4 separate regions of the Homo sapiens genome follow, and regions 2, 3 and 4 are each linked to region 1. Evidence: promoter capture Hi-C in 16 types of primary human blood cells and fetal thymus (Javierre and others, 2016). All regions are on one chromosome and are shown on one strand. Each heading gives the region's core, a stretch centred on a gene start or on the middle of the fragment in contact. The rest is flanking DNA. Distances are from core to core; before and after follow the strand shown.

Region 1 (3,590 bases), core at 761-3,260:
TAGGACCTTCCCTAAAAATGTCGGATACAGAGGTACCCCAGGCATCCCCTTCCCCCACCTTCACAAATCTACTCCTGGAATCTGAGACACAGGTCCTTTGTCTGAACAATGTGGGAGGAGTCTGTCTGCAGTACTGGTGTGCTGGCAAGTGAAGAGGAGAATTAACTGAAAACTGTATAAACCGATGAAGTTTCTTAATTACCTTAGTGTCCATTTTTTCTTCATCCTGCACACTGAACAGTTTTAAAAGACAGCCAGTGTGTCAGTGTGTCTTTCCGAGAGTTGAAACGTACCGAGAGAAATACAGTTAAGATAGGCGGCAGTGAGTTGGGCTGCTTTTCCAAAGCTAAGTTTCTCAACAGCGGAGGGGCAGGGGATGGCGGTGATACCGACCATTTGAACACCCCTTCCCTCCCCAGTGAGCTCTGTCTACAGGCCTCCATTTCTGTTCTTTTCTCCATCTGAACAAGTTCTTGTAAGGGAGGCTGAACGCTTTTAGAAGACACTCGGCGGCGCAAACTTGCAATCTCGAAGCTTTCCGTACCCAACAGCGAACCCACAACTCCTCGAGCCCGACCTTTTACCACCTCACTGAGGTTTCTGGTGCCACGCCAGCCTGGTGTTCCACGAATACAGCCCAAGTAACGTGAACACCACCGGACTGGGTCGCCCGAGAAACTTCACACTTTTTACCAGGCAAGACGGGCGGAAAAGCGTGGGTTTTCGCAAGGTGACCCATCTTCACATCTGGTCGACCCTCGGCTCCTCCCAGACCCCTTCGCGGTGGACTTGGGGGCCTCGCCGGGTTCGCCTTTTCCGTCCCACGCTCCTTTCTCTCGTCTCCCCACCCACGCCCGGGGCCATGCCCAGCTGGACCTCCCCACCCCTGCACTCACCCTGGCGGCCGACGATCTCGGCGACGTGCTCGGAGCTGGGCACCGGGACGCACTCGGTGGTGTTGACGCTCTTTCTCCGGAGCAGGGCCGCCTGCTCCCCGTTCAGGGCGGCCGCCGCCGCCCCACAACCGCCGGGGCCGTAGGCGTGGGACAGCATCGCCGCCATCATGCCCTGGGCATCGTCCCCTCCGTACAGCACCCCCGCCGCCGCCGCCGCGGCCGCCGCCTCCCGGGCATCGAACCTGGCGGCTGGCAGCAGCACAGACCCCAGGGACCCGCCCGGGATCTGCTGGGTCTGAGAGGCGGTGGCCGCGGGCGGCGACAGCAGCAGCAGCGACGACCGGTCCTCCTCCTCTGCTTCCTCCAGCTCCTCCTCCTCCAGCAGGTCTCCGTCCAGCTCCGCTTCCTCCCCCTCCTCCTCGTCCTCTTCCAGCTCCAGCTCGGCCGCCTCCGGGGCCCCGGGCCGGCCGGGCGGAGCCCGCTCCTCTGGAGACAGCTCCGCCGCCCGCCGGGCCTGGCCCTGCGCCGCCGCTGCCGGGGCCCGAAGCGCCGGGGCGCCGGGCTCCGCCGGGCTGGGGTCGTCGAGGCCTAGCGCGGCCAAGCGCTCCCTCAGCAGGAGCCCGTCCCCCTCGAGCTCCGGGCCGCCCGAGGGCGGCGGCAGAGGCGGCGGTGGCGGCGGCGGCGGCGGGGGCGGCTGCGGCAGGGGGGCCGGGGCCGCCGCCAGGGCCAGGGCCGCGGAGCTGCCGCTGGGCATCGCGGCGGCGCGCTGTCAATGGCGGCGGCGGCGGCCGGGTCAGGCGCGGCAGGCGGCGAGCCCCATGGCGGACAGGGCCAGGGCCCTGCTCAGCTCGCAAACACCTTTCCTCTGGGGAGGCGGCGGGGCTGGGGACCCGGGCCGAGGAGCGCCAGGGCCGCCCGGAGACCGGAGAGGGCGGGGTGGAGGGGCAGGGGAAGGAGGCAGAGGTAGGTAACTAGGTGGGTGGGTGGGGACGGCGGCGGGGCGGGCTGGTGGAGGTGGCAGCGGCTCCCCTCTCAGTGTTTCTTTTGTTTCATGGCCTTAACCAGCCCCCGGCGCGCGCGGCGGCGGCGGCTACGCCCCACGCCGCTCTCCGAATGAAGCCGGCGCGCTCTGATTGGGTGCTTTTAATCTCTGGGAGCCCGCCTTCTCCTCCCGCAGCCTTCCAACTCCTTTCCCCAGCCCCACCCCCCACCCTCCTTCGGGCCCCGCCCCTCCCCTCCCCAGAGCTCTCTGATTGGGTGACCGGGACCAGCCAGTTCCCGAAGCCTACTCCTTCCGTCCTCTCCCCGCCCACCTCCCTCTCATTCCTCCCGGCACGCGCGGAGAGGGACTGTGATTGTTCACTTTACACGTCACTCTTTGTGACGTCCCCGGCGGGGGCGGGAAAAAGGAGGCGGACGAAGGCGCTGCAGCAGAGGCTGAAACTAAGGGCCAAGCGGGGTTTTGGCGCAGGCGCGTGCGGTCGAAGCGCACACCTGGATTTGTTTCCCCCCAACCCTTCATCCCTGTAGCCCATGTGGCTGAGTTCTTTTAGGGAAGGCACTGTGTGAGCGGCCTGGAGCAGAGCTGCAGGCATAGGTTCGAGAGCATTGTTTCCTTGGGTTGAGGAAGAGATCGCCCCCTTCAGAGGAAGGGCCTTAAGAAGAGTCACGGAAGGAGGGGCCACGCAGTATCCTCCTATCCCCTCGCGGGGGCGGTTTCCTGAGCCGCGTGGCTCCCGGGCCTTCCCTCTCGGACTCGGGAATGCTCCTCCCACGCCCCGCTGGCCCGGCTTCTCTGCCGGCAGGATGGTTACATCAGCAGCCTGGAGGTGCTGAAGTTTAGCTCTTCGGGGTTTTTTGTTTTTTTTTTTTAAACGGAGTCCAGCTCTGTCGCCCAGGCTGGAGTGCAGTGGTGCGATCTTGGCTCACTGCAACCTCCGCCTCCCGGGCTCAAGAGCTTCCCCTTGCAGTGGCTCACGCCTGTAATGCCAGCACTTTGAGAGGCTCAGGCGGGCGGATCACGAGGTCAGGTCAGGAGTTCGAGACCAGCCTGATCAACATGGTGAAACCCCGTCTCTACTAAAAATACAGAAATTAGCCGGGCATGGTGGCGCACGCCTGTAATCCCAACTACTCGGGAGGCGGAGGCAGGAGAATCGCTTGAACCCGGGAGGTGGAGGTTGCAGTGAGCCAAGATCATGCCACTGCACTCCAGCCTGGGCGACAGAGCGAAACTGCGTCTCAAAAAAAAAAAAAAAAAAAAAAGAGTTTCTCCTGTCTCAGCCTCCCGAGTAGCTGGGATTACAGGCACGTGCCACCACGCCCAGCTAACTTTTGTATTTTTAGTAGAGACGGGGTTTCACCATGTTGGCCAGGCTGGTCTCGAACTCCTGACCTCAAGTGATACGCCCGCCTCGCCCTCCCAAAGTGCTGGCATTACAGGCGTGAGCCACCTCGCCCAGCTCTTTGGTGCTTTTTAAGAAAATGAATCCCCGTTTCCTCCTCCCTAGACACTCTTCCCACAGTATTGCTCAGGTGATCTCACGCAGTGGCTATCTTTTCTAGAGGTTATTATTTCTGTTTTTGTTGAGACAAGAGTCTCACTCTGTCGCCTAGGCTGGAGTGCAGTGACATGATCACAGCTCACTGCTGCCTTGACCTCCTAGGCTCAAGTGATCATCCCGCCTCAGCCTC
Region 2 (3,590 bases), core at 691-3,190, 7.9 Mb after region 1:
GCCTGGAGGCTGGGCCAAAGGTTCTGATGTGAAGATATCACACTGGGTTCTAGGTTTATTGGTCACATTTTGGACCCTTACTCTATTCCCACAAACCTGTTCCACCCACAGCTTTCCTCATTGAAGTTGAGGGGAACTCTACCCTTCTAGTTCCATAGGTTAAAAACCCTGGAGTCAGCCTCAATCTCTTTTCTTCTTTCACGCCCTATATTTATTCTTTCAAAAAATCCTGAAGACTCTTTCTTCAAAATGTATCCAGATTCTGAACCTTTAGTGCTGCCACCTTAGTTCCAGCAATTATTAGTGGCAGGGTTAACTATCACCATATCTTCCTATGTACTAAGCACTGTGTCTTGCACTTATAATTTTATACATCTGATATTTGGAAGAATTTTACACAGACTAGCTTCTGGATCTGTACATTTCAAACCTTGTTTTTCCTCTCCATCCACTTATTTCCAAGGTCAAGTGCTGCAGAACACTTTCATATCAGATGCCACTTCCAGTGGGACTTCCTGCCACGGTGCCAGGTGAGTTGGCCCAGTGGATGGCAGTATTCCCAGAAGCCATTTTTTACACGAGGATGGCAGGAAAGACCATGAACCACATAAATAAATTCACTAAACTCAAACCAAATGTATCTCCAACTCGTTTCCTCCTTAGCTGGATCCCCAAAATTCTCCTTGTCCCTCCAACAGGAGGGGAAATGTAATGGAGGTGAAGTTGGAATGCAAAGAAACAGAACTCTTAACCAATAGCAATTGCAATATCTTGCTTTTGAAAGTTTTACACATTCTATGGTTAAGTTTCTCCCACACCTTGGAAAAACACCTTTGCAATTGAAGGGTCCCAGAACTTACCTTTCATTAGCTTCATGGTAAGTCAGCTTCTGGTATATTTTAAATTGCAACCTGATCCTTTCCCCCAGACCTCCCCATTCAACTTATCTGCTTTTCCTGTTGTCATAGCACCTCCATCCTTTAGGTACCGTATAAATTATCCATTATGTCTGCCTTCGGTAGAATATAAGCTTCATGAGGGCAAGAATCTTTGCTTGTTTTGTTAACTGATGTTTCTCAAGTGCCTAGAACAAGGCCAGGTGCATGGTAGGTGCTCCATAAAGATTTGTGGATAAATAAATACAATAAAGAATGCATAATGCATACACGAGTGAGTGAATGAACCAAAGGTAATCTAGGATCAGAACTGTGATGATCTAGGACTTCTAAATTTAAAACTTTGAGTTATATTCCACTCATTTCCACTTAACCTTGGCCATGTCAATGAACCTTTCTGGGCCTTTGCTTTCTCGTGTATGAAATTAGGTGGTTATGTATTCATTTAATTAATATCTATTGCAACCCAATTATGGTCAAGGCATTCAAAGATACTTCCTTGCATACAAGTGGTACCACTCAAAATGCAGAATTCAGCGGCCTCAAAAGTCCCGCCTCTTCCAAGCCCCGCCCACCGCAGTCCATCTTTAGGCCCCGCCCCAATTCGGCTCAGCCCGCCCCAGCGTAGAGGCACCACCTTTCCTCGCTGCAGTCATCCAATAGCCAAGATACACGGCTAGGTGATTTGCGAGCGGGAGTTAGGTGTCCTCTTGGCGCCTGACCAGAGTCGGGAAATTCAGCTCCTCTTGAGTAGTCCCTTCCCCGAGTTGCCCCCCGAGGTATGCGGGGTCACTCGCTGCTCGATGTTCCCTCCGAAGGGTCGGACAAGGCTCCGGAGCCCTGTAGCTGCCCTCCCTAGGAGCCCCGGGTCTTCACTGGCCGAGGTGCCCACCCCGCAGCATTCTGGGAGTGGTAGTTTTCTTCCTTCAGGTTCATTCCTGGCTGGCCAGTGCCCAAGACTGGCGAGACTACGATTCCCAGACGCCCAAGCGAGTCGCCGGTCACGTGGCCGCAAGGACGCTGGGCCGGTGGGCGGGGGCCGGCAGGTGCTCCGCAGCCGTCTGTGCCACCCAGAGCCGGCGGGCCGCTAGGTCCCCGGAGACCCTGCTATGGTGCGTGCGGGCGCCGTGGGGGCTCATCTCCCCGCGTCCGGCTTGGATATCTTCGGGGACCTGAAGAAGATGAACAAGCGCCAGGTGACGGAGGAGGGTGGTGAGCGCGCCGTGGCCGGGACCGCCTGTGCTAGCGGGGAGTCGGGGCTTCCCAGTCAGGGCTCCGGCTCCCAGTGAATGCGGCCGGGCGGCCACCCGAAGCTCCCGCGCTGGGCTCTCAGGCCCTGGGTTCTACGCCTACGTGTGGGCATGGGTGTGCACTTCCTTGCCCTGACAAGAGCACAATTAGGGGAGGGTGCAGGAAAGGGGAGAATAGAAACCCCGTGCCATGGAATGTCAAATGTGGTTGAGAATGCCACAGCCACGCTTGTGGGAGAGATGACTCGGTGAACGACAGCTCTCTGAGCGTATTTGAAGGGCCACCCGGTGAAGAGGGAACCGATTTCTCTGTGGGGCTTCAGAGGCCTGACTGCCGGCAGGTGGAAGAGGCAGAAAGGCAGGCGAGAGGGAAGAACTTTCCTACAACGGGAGCTGTCCAGCGATGCCTCCCAAAGCAGTTTCTTCCCAGCCTGGGCAGTTGTTTTTCCCCTGACCGTGGGTCGGGACTAAATAATGCTCCTTGTGCCTAGAGAGCTCACAAGCTGTGCGCAATCATTGTGGACTCAACCAGTGTTCCCAGCGAGATTCCAGAAGCCTTCTCTAACTTCTGAGATGGCTGCACTCTGAATATAGGAGGCAGTGTAGGGTCTTTGGGCAGCTGGGGTGGTTGAATTCCCTCTCCTTTGTGAGAGGACCTCAGAGGAAAACGTTCCTCTTGCTCTCTTTTTAGCCACTTATTGGCCATCATCACTGTCTTTGGGGCCTTATCTCTTCACTATAAGGTTAAGAGTGAGTAGGGATTGGAAAGGAAGCCCTCTCAGTCAGGAAAAATACGACTATGTAGGCTTCTAGGTAGAGAATTTGGGGGACCTGTAGGACCTGAATATCACGGTGGATACTAATGCCACTATTGCTACTAATAAATTGTGCTAAGAAAAATGGGACCTTCCAACCAGGGAGTTTTGATTGTCTTTGAAAATGGTATTAATCCTCATTATTTTGATGGCATCCAGTTTCATTTGCTCCATCATGTTGAGATGTGGGGTGGTGCCCATGGGAGGTCACAGCTTACTCCTTTAGGCATACGTGTTTTTCCCCTCTCACTCTCCTCCCCCTTCCCCAAGTAGAATTTCAGACTAGTGCAGTAGTGTGGGAAAGTTTGATAATTTCTATTTCATCAACCGTGTTTAGGATGTGGTAGTGTCTAGGTGTGCAAAGCTGATGACTCCTGTTTCTGGAAGATGAGTTGTAGTAGAGATTATCACCAGCTTAAAAAAGTAACTGCTAATGTCCTGAGCATTGATGCTGTTCACAAGAATATCCTCCAGGAAGCAGAGCTTTGTTTAAAAATCTAGACTTAATGGCTGGGTTTTTAAAGTGTCTCTAAAATTGGTACTGATTACTGATGGCTATAATTGCAGACTGTCAGAAAAGGCCCTCTGATGAGTGTATTGATCCCTAAACCAGTTTGCCCTTTGAAAGA
Region 3 (3,590 bases), core at 1,017-3,516, 5.4 Mb after region 1:
TTAGCGGGCATGGTGGTATGTGTCTGTAGTCCCATTTACTTGAGAGGCTGATGTGGGAGGATTGCTTGAGGCCAGGAATTCAATGCTGCAGTGAGCCATCGTCTCAAAACTGCACTCCAGCCTGGGCAACAGAGCAAGACCCTGTCTCTAACAAATAAGAAAAAAGAAAAGCAAGCAAGTAAGCAGGGATCCCCGCATAGCAATGTCCCCTAGCAGCATTATCCACAACAGCCAAAGGAAGACACAACTGGAATGTCCATCAAAAAATGAACAGGTATACAAAATTTGCCATATAAATAAATGGATTATGTTATGCAGTTATAAAGAAGAATGAAATTCTGAGACATACTAAGACATGGATGAACCTTGAAAATACTATGCTAAGTGAAGTCAAAAACAAAAGGACAAATATTGTTACGATTTCACTTATATTAGGTGCCACAAATTGACAAATTCATAGAGACAGAAAGCAGAATAGAAGTTACCAAGGAGGTAGATGGGGAGGGGCAAATTACTGCTTAATGGGTACAGTTTTGTCCCTTTGGAGAAGTAAGGATGGGGAGTTATCCTTTAATGGATATAGAATTTCTGTCTAAAGTTATAGGAAACAGTGGTGATGGTGGCACAACATTGTGACTGTATAGTCATGTCTGGGTATCTGGGGGATTAGTTTCAGGACCTCCAGCAAGACACTAAATCACAGATGCTCAAGGGCCTAATAGAAAATGACATGGTATCTGCACATAACCTACGACCATTCTCCCATATACTTTAAATCATCTCTAGATTACTTATAATGCCTAAGGTAAATGCTATGTAAATAGTTGTTATACTGTATTGTTTAGAAAATAATGACAAGAAAAAAGTGTGTACATGATCAGCACAAATGCAATTTTTTTTCTCCAAATATTTTCTATCCACATTTGGTTCAATCCATGGATACAGAGGGCTGACTGTCCTTAATGCCAATGAATTATACTCTTACAAATGGCTAAATGGTCAATTTTATGTTATATATATTTTATCATAAGCCACTAAAGATTCTTACACAGGAGAACAATCTATGTATCATTTTAGTAAAATTTAGACTGAGAGTGCATAAAGCATAGAGGTTAAAAAAAAAGAAAAAAGGTTTAAAATAGGGTTGGAAAGGAAATGAAATAGGTGCTGGAGAAACTATGCCCTCAGTCTAAACTGGGACAGCATTAACTTTGATCTAAGAGGATTCTTACAAGATTTTACTGAATACAGTTGTTTCTGAGTCTAATACTGACCCGTCATATACATAATTCTGGGGTTCTATTGACAATGAGTTTAGACAGGATGTATTAATGGCCAATAAGTTCGAGGAATATTAAAGGTAAATACAATAATCTTACCAGATTTGTAAACGTAATATAAATATGCTTTTGAACTTACTCTAAATCCAAACATTAATTTTCCCTCGGTTTTTACAAAGAAAAAAAATTTTAATTCCACTAAAATACCTTTTTAAATGTAACAGTTCCTTACCAATCAATGTCTGCAGTTATGCTTATGCTTAAGTGACACCACACTGATAGAAAAAACCTTCCTTCGCAGCAATGTTTCCCCAGTTTTCTCACTTCAATCAATATTTATTTATTATTTTATTATCTCTCCCACTGCTATGGTAAGGGAGAAAAACAATATATCATTGAGGGACAAAAATATAAAAGCTTCGACGGGCCAGAATTAGAATAAGTGAACTAAAAGTGAGGTGAGGTTCCTTATTGAAATCCTATCTTCCCTTTTCTACTGTGGCCTAGATACTTAATGTACTACAGGTATTCCCCTATTATTAAGAATACAGACATCACAAAATTGCTAAAAATGAGAAGACACATTTATAGAATTCTAACATTCCTTTTAGGTGTTTTATATATATGACATCACTTATCCTTTTAAATTTAGTAAATGCAAAATTCCGTATATCATATGGGTACTCTAGCCCACCATATGAAATGCAAGGTACTATCCTTTTTCAATTCAGTGTAAGAGAGACTGGTCCAAAAATAAGTCTTAACTTGTTTTCATATCTATCTGCATCCATTCCCTAAAACGATATAATCCTAATGCCACCATTTATATACTCAACATTTAGTGAACCATCTAGTAGAAACTTTGTTTTTTGCTCTGAAATTCAAAATGGAATTTTGTGTTTATACAGTTATTTGGACAAGAAAGTGTGTTACATAAACAGTGATACCAGCAGTAGACTGCTCCAAGTTAGATGTATAAATAACGCCAAGGGGTCAAGGAAAATAAAGCGGAAACCTCTCATACTTCTAACTAAATACTATCGACATACACAAGGAGAGATCTGTGAAACACACACACACGCTGAAATCTTGGTTCTCAACGCCGAGTTCCAACATGTCATTCTTACAAAGGAACTTTACTACACATCCACTATAAAAGGTCCACCTTTTCTACGACCTATAATTTTGTTGATATTTACCAAAGACAGTTAACATTTTTCAAGATCCCTGTCCTCTTAAGTGAAAAAACAGAGCCGGGTCAAACTAAGACATCCGGCCAACTGTCCACCTGAAATATATTATATATGTACTGTCGTGTGTGACCAGTTGCAATCGCATACATAGGGGAGCCTAAGCTACAAGTTAGTGGCCGAACGAGGAAGAAAAAAGTTCAAATAATTTAAAAAGCACCCTAACCCAACGTTAACTTAGTTCGAAATGCATTAGCAGAAATTCAGGACTCAGAGCTACGCATATTAGTTAGATCGCCCCATCTGAATCTTCAAAGGCTTTAGAGAGATGTAGGTGGTGAAGAGAAACAAAGTGTTCGGTAAATTAAGCTTTTGGAGCTCTGGAGATGCAAATGACAGCTGGCTCTGCAGAAAGAAGGGGTCAGGCTCAGGCAAGGGTGGCTGCGGAGACTCCCACAGGCTGGAAGGAATAGGGGCGGGCCACCCCCAAAACCAGTTTGTCAAAGAATTGAAAAGGAGCAGGTGAGAAATCTCCTGAGCTGGAGAAGCCGGCCAGCCAGGCCCCCGAGCCCGTCTAGGAACCCCTGTGCATAAATGGGGGTTCACACCCGAGAAACGAGGCCTAATTCCGGCAGCTCCTGGGGCTGCGGCGACTGCCGGACACTCCGGGGCAGCAGACGGCTAGGAAACCAGGGCCAACAAAGAGTGAAAGGAAAGCAAGGAAGGACAGACGGGGACCCACAGAGCTCGAGCCTGGCCTCACCCTCTCATGGTGAACTTGACCACGGCGAGTCTGGAGCCCGCGCCGCTCAGCTCTGGCTGGAAATCCGGGTCGCTCCCGACGGGCTTCACCCCCACCATCCTCACAGAGAGCCCGGCAGGGTGGCCGCGACGCCACTGGCTTTGAAACTGAAGGAGAAGACGATCTGGGAGAGGAAGGAGAGATGCTCAGGAAGGCCGAGGCCTGGACAGAAGAGGTGGCGACCGCCGAGTCTTCTCCCGGGACTCTCAGTGCCGAGTCACGCCAGGGAGCGGAGCGGCCGAGGGGGCGGGGAGGGATGGGGGAGGGGAGAGGAGGAGGATGGGAAGGCGTGCGGCACCCAGCAGCCACCGCGCGGCA
Region 4 (3,590 bases), core at 684-3,183, 5.1 Mb before region 1:
TGGCTGGGATTACAGGCACGTGCCACCATGCCTGGCTAATTTTTGTATTTTTAGTAGAGATGGGGTTTTGCCATGTTGGTCAGGCTGGTCTTGAACTCCGGACCTCAGGTGATCCACCTGCCTCGGCCTCCCAAAGTGCTGAGAATATAGGTGTGAGGCACCGCATCCAGCCAGAGCAGAGATATGTTTGAAGCAAAAAGAATAAGCAAGACAGGCTGGGTGTGGTGCCTCATGCTTGTAATCCCAGCACTTTGAGAGGCCCAAGTGGGAGCATCACTTGGGGCCAGGAGTTCAAAAACAGCCTGGGCAACATAGTGAGACCCTCTTTCTACAAAAAATACAAAAAGTTAGCTGGGTGTGGTGGTGCACGCCTATAGTCCCAGCTACTAAGGAGGCTGAAGCGGGAGGATTGCTTGAGCCCAGGAGTTCAAGGTTGCAGTGAACTGTGATCACCACTATACTCCAGCTTGGACGAAAGAGCAAGACCCTGTCTCTAAAAATAAAATAAAATAAATAATAAATAAGCTTGGCTTGCTAGTAAGTTTCCTTTGAAAAGAAAATCATTTTAGGCTGGGTGTGTTGGCTCACACCTGTAATCCTAGCTCTTTGAGAGGCCGAGGCAGGCAGATCACTTGAGGTCAGGAGTTTGAGACCAGCCTGATCAACGTGGTGAAACCCCCCGTTCTACTAAAAATAAAAAAATTATCCCTGCATGCTAGCACAAGCCTGTAATCCCAGCTACTAGAGAGGATGAGACAGGAGAATTGCTTGAGCCTGGGGACGGGGGTTGGAGGTCGCAGTGAGCCAAGATCATGTCACTCTGCACTCCAGCCTAAGCGACAGAGAAACACTCCATCTCAAAAAGAAAAGAAAAGGTCGGGCGCAGTGCCTGTAATCCCAGCACTTTGGGAGGCCAAGGCGGGCGGATCACCTGAAGTCAGGAGTTCGAGACCAAGCTGGCCAACCTGATGAGATCCCATCTTTACTAAGATACAAAAAATTAGCTGGGCGTGGTGATGCACACCTGTAATCCCAGCTACTCGGAAGGCTGAGGCAGGAGAATCGCTTGAACCCGGGAAGCAGAGGTGGCAGTGAGCTGAGAGCCGAGAGCCGAGATCGTGCCACTGCCCTCCAGCCTGAACAACAGAGACTCCATCTCAAAAAAAAAAAAAAAAAAAAAAAAGCTGGGCGCGCTGGCTCACGCCTGTAATCCCAGCACTTTGGGAGGCCGAGGTGGGCGGATCATGAGGTTAGGAGTTCGAGACCAGCCTGGCCAATATGGTGAAACCCCGTCTCTACTAAAAACACAAAAATTAGCCAGGCGTGGTGGCGCTTGCCCGTAGTCCCAGCTACTTGGGAGGCTGAGACAGAAGAATCGCTTGAACCCAGGAGGCAGAGGTTGCAGTGAGCCGAGATCATGCCACTGCACTCCAGCCTGGGCGACAAAGCGAGACTCTGTCTCAAAAAAAAAAAATGTCCCTAGTTTTTAGGTTGGGGGAACTAACGGATCAAGTTAAGATTGCCTCAGCTCATATTGCCAGGGTAGAATATAAATTCTGAGTGGATGCAATCAATGTGGAAGAAACACAAACATCTTGCTAAGCAAGAACCAAACGTTTCAAGTACTTTTTTTTAACGACAAGTGATTCAAACAAGAAATAAAAATAAAAGAAAGAAAAAACAACCTGGTTCTAGGCGGCTCTATCTCTCGTAGTGTTGATTATACCGCGGAAGGCGGGAAGAGCTGGGAAGTGGCAACGAAGCGAGGCTTGCAATGCCAGAGCCTTCGACCAGCCTTGCACAGGGGCTCAACGGCCAGGAGTCTCAGGTAAAACCACAACTCCCAGAAATCCCGGGCCCGGCGAGGGGCGGGTGCCAACGGCGTGTGGGCGGGGCCTAGGGAGTGAGCGGGGCGCATCTCCCGCTAGGAGTTCCTAGTAAAGTGGCGGGAGCCGCAGCTATGGAGCCGCAGGAGGAGAGAGAAACGCAGGTGATGGGGCGGGAATGGGGATCGTTGGCCTCCTGGAAAACGCGTTTTTGACACCCCCGCGCCGACAGCGGGTCTCCTGTGCGCGCCACGTCTACTTTTCTCTCCCCTATTCCACACATCCGTCTTTTAGTGCCGCCGTCACTATCTGCAAGCCCCCCGTGCTTAGACTCTCCTGAAGGCCTTTCCCTTCCTGCCCGGGCCTCCCCTTGTTTGGATCTGGCCCGGGAGAGGCGTTGAGCAGCCCGTGTCCACAGACTCTGGAGTGGGACTTATGAAGCCAAACCCGCCTTCCGGTTCGCTGCTCAGCCCGGCGGCTTCCACATCTGAACTGCTTCCGCGCCCTGCATCCCAACACTGGGAGCCTCCCGGCGCGGCGGGGCTTCTGGTGATCGAGGGACAATTGCTTTTTTCAGACCATGCACGGTCTAATAATGCGTTCGCATTATTATGGTCTATTAAGCTTTAAGGTTTTTCAAGCGAGGCAAATTGTTAGCCTGTACCGCTTTTGCAGATTTGGAAAAGAACGGATTGTTCTCTGGTAATTTTCAGTATTGTACGTTTCTTTGTGTACTTGCTCACTTTTTATTTCCTGATATCTAGTATCTCCCTAAAGACAAGTGAGGTTGTGAAGTAGGACTCCAAAATAGTCACAGAAAGCATTTAGTTTGCTTTTGATCACTTCTTTGTCATATTCTCATCGAGCCATTACAGTAAACAAGGCTTATAATATTTGTCTTTCTTTTAATGGTTAGGTTGCTGCGTGGTTAAAAAAAATATTTGGAGATCATCCTATTCCACAGTATGAGGTGAACCCACGGACCACAGAGATTTTACATCACCTTTCAGAACGCAACAGGGTCCGGGACAGGGATGTCTACCTGGTAATAGAGGACTTGAAGCAGAAAGCAAGTGAATACGAGTCAGAAGGTGAGATTAAGTCCAGAGTTTTGAACGAGAATAAATAGAGGTAACCAAATTTTATAACACTAAAGTATACAGGATTAATTTACTGTAGACTACTTGTTTTGCTCCTTTATTTTTCCCAGATTTTCTTCCACTCTGTTATAGTAGTAACTTTATTGTTTTATGTTTATATATATGTATATGTATGTGTGTGTGTGTGTGTGTGTGTGTGTGTGTGTGTGTGTGTGTATATATTTTAGACAATCTTGCTCTGTCGCCCAGGCTGGAGTGCAGTGGTGTGATCTCAGCTCACTGCAACCTCCATCTCCTGGGTTCAAGTGATTCTCATGCCTCAGCCTCCCAAGTAGCTGGGACTACAGGCCTGCACCACCACACCCGGCTAATTTTTGTGTTTTAGTAAAGACAGGGTTTCACAATATTGGCCAGGCTGGTCTCGAACTCCTGACTTCAGGTGATCCGCCTGCCTCAGCCTCCCAAAGTGGTAGGATTAGAGGCATGAGCCACCCTGCCTGGCCAGTAGTAATTCTCTAAGTAATAAATGTTATTATACTAAATATCTTATTGGTACTCTGATAGCAAAACAGTAAGCCTTAAAAGAGTCTAAACTTGTTAGTCTGACACACAAGATGCCTTGTGGTTTTTTACTTACCTATCTGTTTTTTCTGTTTCCGGTCTC

The links. Contacts are between HindIII fragments. The CHiCAGO score rates a contact against its expected background, and 5 or more counts as called.
Region 2: the fragment with the promoter of SEC11C here is called in contact with the fragment with the promoter of MEX3C in region 1 in 2 of 17 cell types (naive CD8 T cells and monocytes); the score reaches 7.7 in naive CD8 T cells.
Region 3: a contact is called between a fragment that was not itself captured here and the fragment with the promoter of MEX3C in region 1, in 4 of 17 cell types (total CD4 T cells, naive CD8 T cells, fetal thymus and 1 more). The highest score is 14.9, in total CD4 T cells.
Region 4: a contact is called between the fragment with the promoter of HAUS1 here and the fragment with the promoter of MEX3C in region 1, in 1 of 17 cell types (non-activated CD4 T cells). The highest score is 5.7, in non-activated CD4 T cells.

Annotation. Positions count from the first base shown.
Region 1 is chr18:51,195,671-51,199,260 of GRCh38, forward strand. It overlaps MEX3C (mex-3 RNA binding family member C), which reads right to left and starts at 2,011. Exons shown (of 2, transcript NM_016626.5): 1 at 897-2,011. The coding sequence starts at 1,650. RefSeq lists enhancers at 15-636, 265-314, 2,435-2,524 and silencers at 975-1,024, 1,045-1,094, 1,355-1,434, 1,575-1,684, 1,705-2,234. The HindIII fragment of the contact is 5,421 bases long and covers 533-3,590 here.
Region 2 is chr18:59,137,944-59,141,533 of GRCh38, forward strand. SEC11C (SEC11 homolog C, signal peptidase complex subunit) reads left to right here and starts at 1,941. Exons shown (of 6, transcript NM_033280.4): 1 at 1,941-2,092. The coding sequence starts at 2,006. RefSeq lists silencers at 1,371-1,420, 1,841-1,980 and enhancers at 1,531-1,620, 1,701-1,800. The HindIII fragment of the contact is 2,684 bases long and covers 1,029-3,590 here.
Region 3 is chr18:56,635,110-56,638,699 of GRCh38, forward strand. It overlaps TXNL1 (thioredoxin like 1), which reads right to left and starts at 3,483. Exons shown (of 8, transcript NM_004786.3): 1 at 3,234-3,483. The coding sequence starts at 3,331. RefSeq lists enhancers at 2,535-3,520, 3,302-3,361, 3,521-3,590 and a silencer at 3,512-3,590. The HindIII fragment of the contact is 1,142 bases long and covers 1,696-2,837 here.
Region 4 is chr18:46,102,452-46,106,041 of GRCh38, forward strand. HAUS1 (HAUS augmin like complex subunit 1) reads left to right here and starts at 1,934. Exons shown (of 9, transcript NM_138443.4): 1 at 1,934-1,990; 2 at 2,743-2,917. The coding sequence starts at 1,961. It also overlaps a transcript of ATP5F1A not described here. RefSeq lists a silencer at 1,759-1,858 and an enhancer at 2,249-2,338. The HindIII fragment of the contact is 1,925 bases long and covers 524-2,448 here.